Regions from separate parts of the Homo sapiens genome. Here all the other regions are linked to region 1. Evidence: promoter capture Hi-C in 16 types of primary human blood cells and fetal thymus (Javierre and others, 2016). All regions are on one chromosome and are shown on one strand. Each heading gives the region's core, a stretch centred on a gene start or on the middle of the fragment in contact. The rest is flanking DNA. Distances are from core to core; before and after follow the strand shown.

What was found. Contacts are between HindIII fragments. The CHiCAGO score rates a contact against its expected background, and 5 or more counts as called.
Region 2: a fragment that was not itself captured here is called in contact with the fragment with the promoter of TG in region 1 in 5 of 17 cell types (M2 macrophages, activated CD4 T cells, naive CD4 T cells and 2 more); the score reaches 7.3 in M2 macrophages.
Region 3: a fragment that was not itself captured here is called in contact with the fragment with the promoter of TG in region 1 in 1 of 17 cell types (naive CD8 T cells); the score reaches 5.5 in naive CD8 T cells.

The regions. Positions count from the first base shown.
Region 1 is chr8:132,865,542-132,868,463 of GRCh38, reverse strand. It overlaps TG (thyroglobulin), which reads right to left and starts at 1,506. Exons shown (of 48, transcript NM_003235.5): 1 at 1,397-1,506; 2 at 241-349. The coding sequence starts at 1,463. The HindIII fragment of the contact is 3,355 bases long and covers 949-2,922 here.
Region 2 is chr8:133,139,203-133,142,172 of GRCh38, reverse strand. No RefSeq gene overlaps it. Among named protein-coding and RNA genes, the nearest start is that of SLA, 38 kb to the right of the region's middle. The HindIII fragment of the contact is 2,304 bases long and covers 253-2,556 here.
Region 3 is chr8:133,156,870-133,159,987 of GRCh38, reverse strand. LOC105375769 (a long non-coding RNA gene) reads right to left here. Exons shown (of 3, transcript XR_928667.4): 2 at 1,816-1,940. Among named protein-coding and RNA genes, the nearest start is that of CCN4, 33 kb to the left of the region's middle. The HindIII fragment of the contact is 6,458 bases long and covers 1-3,118 here.

The DNA of each region.
Region 1 (2,922 bases), core at 257-2,756:
ATGAAGCATGGATTGGGGTTCACTTGGTCAGATTGTCCAGTGTTGAACAGCTTGGGGAACTGAAAGGCAGGCACCTCCAAATGACAGTGGAACTGAAAGGCAGGCACCTCCAAATGACAGTGGCCAAGCCTCACATGCACAAAGGAGTTGCAGGGCAGAGCTCAGGAAGAGGGGGGAAGGCACAAGATGCTTTTTATGGCATCTTGGACCTTGAGAGTTCGCTGCTGACATAAGCCTTACTGGAAGCTGCCATCCTCTGCACACTGGGGCACGTAGTCTGCTTGCTTCAGAAAGGCCGTTTCCCTCTGCAGCTCACAGGGACGAAGGGGCTGGGCATCCACCTGGTACTCTAGGAAAAGAAAAGTGGTTCATCAAAGAAGAGTGTGGACTGGGCTGCCAGGACAGAGACGGGCTCTCATAAGCACAGATGCTTTTCCAGGGTCATCATCATTACCTATGACAGCCTATTTTAAAATTTGGCAGCTAAGCACACTTTCTTACAAGTATGACATTAGCTCATTTAATGTGCAACATTCTCCTAAGAGGTGACAGGCAATATATCCTTGTCACTCATGAGGCACCAAGTCTCAGGCAGCGAAAGTCGTCTGCCCAAAGTCACGTAACTGGCAAGTGAAGGATCCCAAAATCAACGCTGGGACTACACGTTCCCCGCCCGCCCCCACCCTGCCGCAATTCCCATGAGGCTATTTGGAGTAAGTTAGAGAACCGTAAGGAAGTTCTTCTTGAATCTATCAAGCCATGCCCTGCAGATGTAACATGTTCCAGATAAACATTGAAATACCAATTAATTAATAATGTACATGACTTATTTTTCCATTGAGAACTCTTGTAACACATAGGGTCCTACCCAGAAATCACAACCGCATCATGAGGTGTGTGTTATTTGTTTACTTTTTAAATGAAAAAAAAAAAAAAAAAACAGAAGCTTGGCACTTTGCCCGAAGTCATATGGGTAAGTGGCTGAGCCAAAGACAGAACTTAGGGCTATTTCACTTCATAGGTAGATTTCTTTTTCTACTGCTTCTAAAATACCTGTTATGGATGACACAGACTTTGGAATAGCTAAGGGGATAAAAACCCAAGGTCAATGCCAAAAGTTTGCCAAAATGGTGGGGTGAGGAGGACCTAGAATTGAATTAGGAAGATCAACCACATTTCCCATTTCTGCTCCATCAATCACTAGCTCTGTGACCTCAAGTAATTCAGTTCGGCTCTCTAAATCTGCCTCTTCATCTGAAAAAAAAAAAGCAAATCACTGACATGTGGGAATTTGTGAAGATTAAATTAGATCGCACCTGTTCGAAGGCCCAGGGCAGAGCCTGGCTGACACTGGAGCTCCCTCCCCACCGCCTGGCTCCATGGCCTCAGAACTTACCGAAGATATTGGCCGACACCCAGCAGATGGAGGCCAGCAGGGTGAAGATCTCCAGGACCAGGGCCATTTTCCTGGCCCTTCCTGGGAGGAAGGAGGAGAAACCACTGCTTGCCCTAGGTCCCCTGGCCAGGGAGCTTTTATAGAGCTGCCGTTGGCACTTTCCTTCCCACCCCCAGGTCCTCAGTGAGGCAGTGCCCCATCCTGTTTTCTCTGCTGGTCAAAAGGAGCTCCCTCCACCTGTGTCTACTCCTCCTGAGGGCACTCGTGTGGCCAGTGGAGCATGAGGATCTTGTCTAAACTGTGGGGGAACAGAACGGGGTGGGGTGACTTCAAAATCCTTTTTTATGGGTAAAGACCAAAGCTCTGTATCTTTGGAGGGAACAGGCTCAAGCCCACAGTGAGGGAAAAGCAATCCTTTGTTCTTTCCTTCCCCACCCTACCCTTTCTCCTTCTCCTTCCTCCTTCCTTCTTTCCTTTCTTCCTTTCTTTCTTCTTTCCTTCCTTTCTCCCTTCTATCCTTCTTTCCTTTCATTCTTCCTTCTTTCTTTCCTTCCTTCCCTCTTTCTTTTCTTTCTTCCTTCTTTCCTTCCTTCCTTCTTTTCTTTCTTCTATTCTTTCTCTAACAACCTCTTAGAGCTCCACAGTAGCAGGCACCTAATCTAGACAATGAGGATATGGCAGAGAACAAAACAGGCAAAATCGTGCCCTCATTAATATAGACTGTGAAAACTTTGGTGAGGGAAGCAAAATACACACACACTCATATTCATATTTCTATTACTTTCCTCTCTTTCCTAGGACCTCAGACTTTGTCAACCAAAAGATAGCAGGAACTGTGTATTCCACAGAAAGCCTGTATGTCCATTTGGTTTCTCCTGGCAAACATGGCTTCCTTCCTTCAGTCCTGTTCCTGTGAGACCTGGAAAAACTCACCTCATCTCCCTGAGCCCCAGCCTCCTTCTCTGGAAAGCAAAGTTAAAAGGAGAATAATAATATGTCCCTATTTGTTAAGGTAGTTGTAAGAGAATAGACATTGAAGAGCACATGCTTATTAGACACTAGCAGTTATTATTATTATTATTGATTTTCTTATTTTGCAAAAGCATCATGCCAGGGAATGGCAAGTATTCAGAAGACCAATCCAGCCAGGTAAGGAGCTAGTGACAGATAGGGTCAGGAACTGGCAGGTAATGAGGGCAGGTTGCTGAGCCTGGCACCTGAGGAGAGATGGAGGGACCTGTGAGAATCTGGAGGATATGGTCCCGGGTAGAGTGAAGGGCAGGAGGACAAGCTGGAAAGTGGAAGAGACTCCAAACCCTGGGGAAAATAAAGGGGCCGATATAGCTGCCGTGCCGTAGACTGTACTACCTTCCACAAATAGGGTTGCTATGAATATTAAATGTGTTAAAATATGCAAAGTGCTTAAAACAGTATTTGACACATAATAAGTATCCAGTGTTAGCTACTGTACTAGTCTGCTATGGGTGTCATCACAAACTATCACAGACTGGGTGGCTTAAGTAACA
Region 2 (2,970 bases), core at 155-2,654, 270 kb before region 1:
CTCGGGTCACTCAACCTCCGCCTCCTGGGTTCAAGCAATTGTCTGCCTCAGCCTCCTGAGTAGCTGGGATTACAGGCGTCTGCCACCACACCTGGCTATTTTTTTTTTGTTTTTTTTGGTATTTTTAGTAGAGATGGGGTTTCACCATCTTAGCCAGGCTGGTCTTGAACTCCTGACCTCGTGATCCACCTGCCTTGGCCTCCCAAAGTGCTGGGATTACAAGAGTGAGCCACTGTGCCCGGCCACCAAGCTTATTTTTATTTGTCCTTTGGTTTTCAGCTTGGGGTCTCCTCTCTGGAGAACATCCACTAATATGACTTGGGTACCCTTCTTCTGCTCCTGAAGCCTCCCCTTTATTTTATCCCTATTATCACAAGTATTCCACAGAATTGTGATTGGCTCTTTACTTGCCTGCGTCTCCCTCTAGACTTGGGGCTCCTCAAGCATAGGGAGCTTTAATCATTGTGCCTTCAGCACCAAACAAGGGGCCCGGTCCAAAGTGATGAATGAGCTCAACAGAAGTAGATTCTGGTCATGAAAATGTCTTCTAATTATTGTTCACCATTTCTAATTATGCAGAGCATTTAATTCTCTTGCTTTTTAAGAACCTCACAATACTGTTAGGAAAGGAATTAGTTATCTACATTTTCCACGTTAAGCTAATGCCCAGATTGGTGAAGGGGTTTGTTCTGAATCATCCAGTTGGTGAGAAGCTGAGTCAGGACTCAAAGGCCTGTCAAGCTCCAGATATCCATATTCTTTCCTTTATATCCAAAGCCTTAAAGCAGTGATATCACAAACCTGGACAAGACCATCAGGATATTATAAAAACATGCAAATTCCTTGAAGATGTGATAAAGACACAGAATTCAAGGAATTGAGAGAGAAAAAAAGAAGGGAGGAAGGAAAGGAGGGAGAGAGAGAAAGAGGAAAGAAAAACAATTATAAAGTCTAGATAGAACAATAAGATGCAACATAATATTACATATATTATATAATATTACAATGTGATCTTCAGGTAAACAATGTTCCTCTTTAAATGCCCAGGGGTTATAACATGTACTAAGAGAGTACAAACTATGATTTTAACCATGTTGCTTGGCCTGTAAACTATATATGTAACATTGGCAGACCCCAGGTATTAGTCAGTTCCCCATGGGTGTTGGTTAGGATAACAATACATATATATAGCCTTAATACAGCAAATAAGGTTAACTGGCCTTCGGCTGTTGGAACTGACCTGTGGAACAAAGCTCAGAAGGCTGATTTGAGACTGCAGGACAAAGTAAGTCTAAGAGTGTGGACATTAAAGAGAAGGGGTGTTAAGGGATGAGGCCAAAGAGGGAAGAAGGAGGGGTGGGGGTATAAGCATGGTGCCGTAGCTTGAATGTCCCCTCCAAAACTCATGTTGAAATTTAATAGCCAATGTAATAGTATTGAGAGGTGGAGCCTTTAAGAAGCCTTCATAGTAGCCCTCATGAATGGATTAATGCTGTTGTCGTGGGAATTATCCTGAGAGTGGGCTCCTGATAAATGGATAAGTTTGGCCCCACTTCTGTGTTTCTCAAAACTCGCTTCTGCCTTCTGCTAGATGCCAGTGCTATGCTGTTGAACTTTCCAGTCTCCAGAACCACAGGCCAAATAAACTTCTGTTCTTTATAAATTACCTAGTCTGTGGTATTCTGTTATGGCAGCAGAAAATGGACTAAGACAGATATAGGTATGCTCATCATTTATGTAGAAAGGCAGAAAATAATTAGAAAATGTATGGAATACAAAAGAGAATTTTTTTTTTTTAGAATTAAAAAGAAATCTCAAGAAGGAATAAAAATGTACTGTTGGAAGTATAGGAGGTGGGTGGTATAAGTGAGCTAAACCCTCATTTTTCTCCGAAAGGACTCAATAGGTCTAGATAAAGCTGATAAGTCACAAACAGAGGTAAACTCACACTATCTAGACTTCTGGGGTGACTGAACTAAGATGGGAACTGTTAGAAGAAGTTGCTTCTGGAAAATAGATTTATGGCAGACAGGAGGACCACATAAGACATTTCCTATGTAGAAGTATTATTTATTTGAACCTTTAGGTTTATGAGTGCTATATTACATCTATTTATTCTAAAAAATTTGGGAACAGGAATCTGCATTTTAATCAGCTACTCAGGTAACTTTTATGCTCTCAGCCCTGTCTTGGAACCATTGCCTATGGCTTTGGATGGCCTGGGAGGGGCTGTTCTTGTCTCCCCAGCTTCAGTGAGGACCTGGGGAATCTCTGAGCTTTGGGCATTTCTGCTGCCTTTGAAAAGGGGCTTGGAAGCTGGGGAACCTTGCAGGGTTACTTCATAACTTCCCTTTGAAAAGATCACTTGCTTCATCTTCCTGTAATTCCTGGTTGCTTCTAACTCAGGAGGAAGTTGACTCAGTCTCATGAGTGAGCTCCCAGATAATTTCTTCATTTTGTTTCTTAATTCATGCCTTGCAGATTGTGAATATCACTCTGGTTCTCGATGCGAGGTGATGTCTCATTCACCTCTTGACTTTTGGTTGACCCTAAGCTTGATGTGGGTGTACTGTGACCTTCCTGTCCTTTAAAGATGGAGAAAAGAGATTATGACACCTTTACAGTTGCCCTGATGTACACTCATGTTTGCCCATTGCAGTTGGGAATGGGTTATGCAATCCCATGTGACTTCAAGAGGAATCTCTGCAACACATGAAAGATGCAGTGGGAGTCCAGAGCCCAGAGTTCTGGAAGCCAGGTCTGAGAGGGCTGACCGTGGGGCCTGGGGCATTACCTTCCCCTACTTGTCTTAATAGGAACTCTGATCTCCTGCAGCTCACACACCCTAGCTATTGTAGATTGTCTCTTCCGCTGCAGGTTTCTGAAGGTAGTTCCAGGGTAGGACTGTGATCGCCTGGCCTCTGGGTCCCTCCTATTTCCCATCTTTACCTTTCTCATGCATTGGCACAT
Region 3 (3,118 bases), core at 91-2,590, 290 kb before region 1:
AAGCAGGTTTCATTGACTCACAATTCTTCAGACTTAATAGGAAGCATGACTGGGAGGCCTCAGGAAACTTACAATCTTGGTGAAAGGCGAAGGGGAAGCAAGGCACCTTCATCACATGGCAGAGCAGGAGGAAGAGTGAGAGAGCGAAGCGGGAAGGGCCACACACTTAAAATTCAGCAAATCTCGTGAGAACTCACTGTCACGAGAACAGCGTGGGGGAAATCCGCCCCCATGATCCAATCACCATCCACCTGGTCCCTCCCCTGAAACATGGGGATTAAAATTTAAAATGAGATTTGGGTGGGAACACAGAGCCAAACCATATTAATATGTTTTACAGTTTTAATAGATGTTGCCCTATTGATTTATACAAATGCTGTGACAATTTGCATTTCCACCAGCAATATATGCAAACGTTCTTTTCATGGAACACTTACCAGCAACAAGTGTTAATGCTCTTTTTAGGTATGCCAGCTGGATGAATGTAAAATAATGTCTCATTAATTACATGAAATTTATATTAATTTTTATTTCCCTGACTTCTAGTGAATTTAAGTATCTTTTACTATGTTTATTGTTCATTTGGATTGCTTTATTTTACACTTTTTCCTATTTTTTATTGGGTGGTTTGTGTTTTTCCTGTCAATTTGTAGTACGAATCTTTGAATATTACAGCTCTTCATTCTCTACCTGTCCTTATTGTCTGTGGCAGTAAAGTTTGTATATTGGATTAAATTAACTCTCTAGTAACCCTCTGCATTGGTTAACCAAAGAAAAATGCTCTATGCCTCAAATCTATTTCCCTCCCATTTTTCTACCTATACTCGTCTCTATTTTCCTTCACTGTCCTGGGAAGTATCAGGGTAGATAGAAAGGAGGAAACAGACATTTATAAGCACATTCTACTTGCCAGTGAATTAATGGGTAGTTTATATGTTACATCATTTAATTAAATAAAATTAAAATATTTTTAATCACCATTTTACTGATGGGAATACAGAGGCTCAGAGAGGTTAATTTACTTCTCAAGGTTGGGTTAAGGAAATGTCAGAGATAAGATTTGAACCTGTATCTATCTGGTTCTAAAGTGTTCTTTCAGATGCCCTCCTCAGGCTGCTAGTCTCATGGGAGACTCACAGCCACCCTAAGGGACCATGGGGCAGGCTTCCTCATCCTCTTTCCACAGGCAAGAGCCCTGCACTCAGAGCAGCTGAATGACATGGTCAGGGACACAAACTGAGATTGCAAACCTACAGCTTCTGTCTTTAAACCTGGAACTGTTTTGAATCTGGTGTCTGTCCACCTCTTTTCTCTTGAGTTAGGAGCATTGGGGTAGGTTGGCATGGGGGAGCCACTCGGCATCTCATGTCCTTCAGTGAATTCTCTGCTATCCAGAGCCACAGAGGTAGCACATGATTTGCCAAGGGACTGCAAGGACCTCTCCCTCTCTTCAGCAGATCTTCCCCTCTGAGGGCTTCGGTGGGCAGGAGAGAGAGGAGAAACACACATAACGGAGGAGCTCTGAAATCCCCGGGCCAAAAATAACCTCCTTTCCCCCAACCTCCACTCCCACCCTCCATCCAAGGGGAGTGGCGGCAAAGTTTCAGAAACTCTGAAATGACTCAAAGAAACAGAAAAGTGTTCTAGTTGTCCAATATTTACATAAGGAGCTGGTTCAGTTTTCCTTTCCTGCTGTTAACATCTGAGCTGGCACACAGACGTGGACACCTGCCCACATCCACCAATAGATGTGCACCTGGATGCACGTGTGTTGTACATGCAGACACAGTGTGTACGGCACCCATCCCCACACACCTCAGGCTGCAGCACAGCAGTGAGTGGCAGCCAGGGCTGCTGGGAGGTGTCCATCCCCAGGCTCAAGCTGTGTGTCTTTGTTCTTCACACCAGAGTCTACTGTTGGGTTTCTTCAGAAGCAGCCTCTGCAATAAGAATATGAGTGCAAGGGATTTGTAAGGCAGGTGATCTGAGCAATGCCACTAAGGGAATGGGCAGGTGAGGCAGGGACTTAAAGGAAACCAGTCAGGGAACATTGTCAACTCACAGCAGTGACCATGGGCAACCAGGTCACAATTCCACTGTGGTGTTCTGGGAGAAGGTGGATGGCACACCTCAGAATTGCCTCACTCAAGATGGAGGAAGCTGAAATATGCACCAATCAACTCCCTTTCTGCTGTGGTTGAGGATTGCTTCCTGGAGATTACTGTGGCAAGAGAAACATGAGCTTCCATATTACCTTGTATAATGCACAGGGCAAGAACCCAGCCAGGCCAAGAAACATGCTCTTTACATCCAAAAAAAGGCTTCAATCCTAGCTCTGTTTCTTGCCTATTTGATACCTTGAATAATTTCTTCCCTCTGAGCCTCTAATTCTCTTATCTATAAAATGGGTAGGATACTTTCCCCGACAAGATTGGAATAGGGATTTGATGAAATAATGCAGGTCAATGAACTTGCCCAAGATTGGCTCTCAAAAGAGACTGATATTTTGTCTCACCACCTACATTGCTTTCATTGTTTGCTGGTTTCCCTTTATCTTTCGAACCTCTGTTAGGATGCCCAGGGCTCAGTCTTCAGGCCTCTACTCTTGTCTAGGACACATGCCCTTGGCGATCTCATCCAACTTCAAAGCCTTAAATGTCTAGCGTAACCCTCAGCACTCCCATGCTCATGTGCCTCCTTTGCCGTCTTCAAAATAGAACTGGAATGTGACCACAGCTCACGTTCCCTGTCATTGCCCTGGTCCAAACCCTCGTCTTTTGCTTGGATGCTTGCATTAGCTTCCTGACTCTCCATCCTTGCTCCCTGTACAGCTTTTTCTCTACACAAATACCAGAAGCATCCTGTTAAAATCCAAGCTGGATGACGCCACTCTATTTAGTCTGCTAATACCTTCTCATTACTCCTAAAGAAAAAGCCCAAGTCTTTACATAGGTTTACAATGTGACTGGACCCAAATCTCAAATCTCCTCTCCTCCATGTTTTCTTCTGCTCACTCTGTCTCAGCTATTCTCACCTCCTTCTGTTCCTCACACAGTCTAAGCACCCTCTTGCTTCAGGGGCTTTGCACATGCTGTTCCCTCTGCCTGAGTGTTCTTCC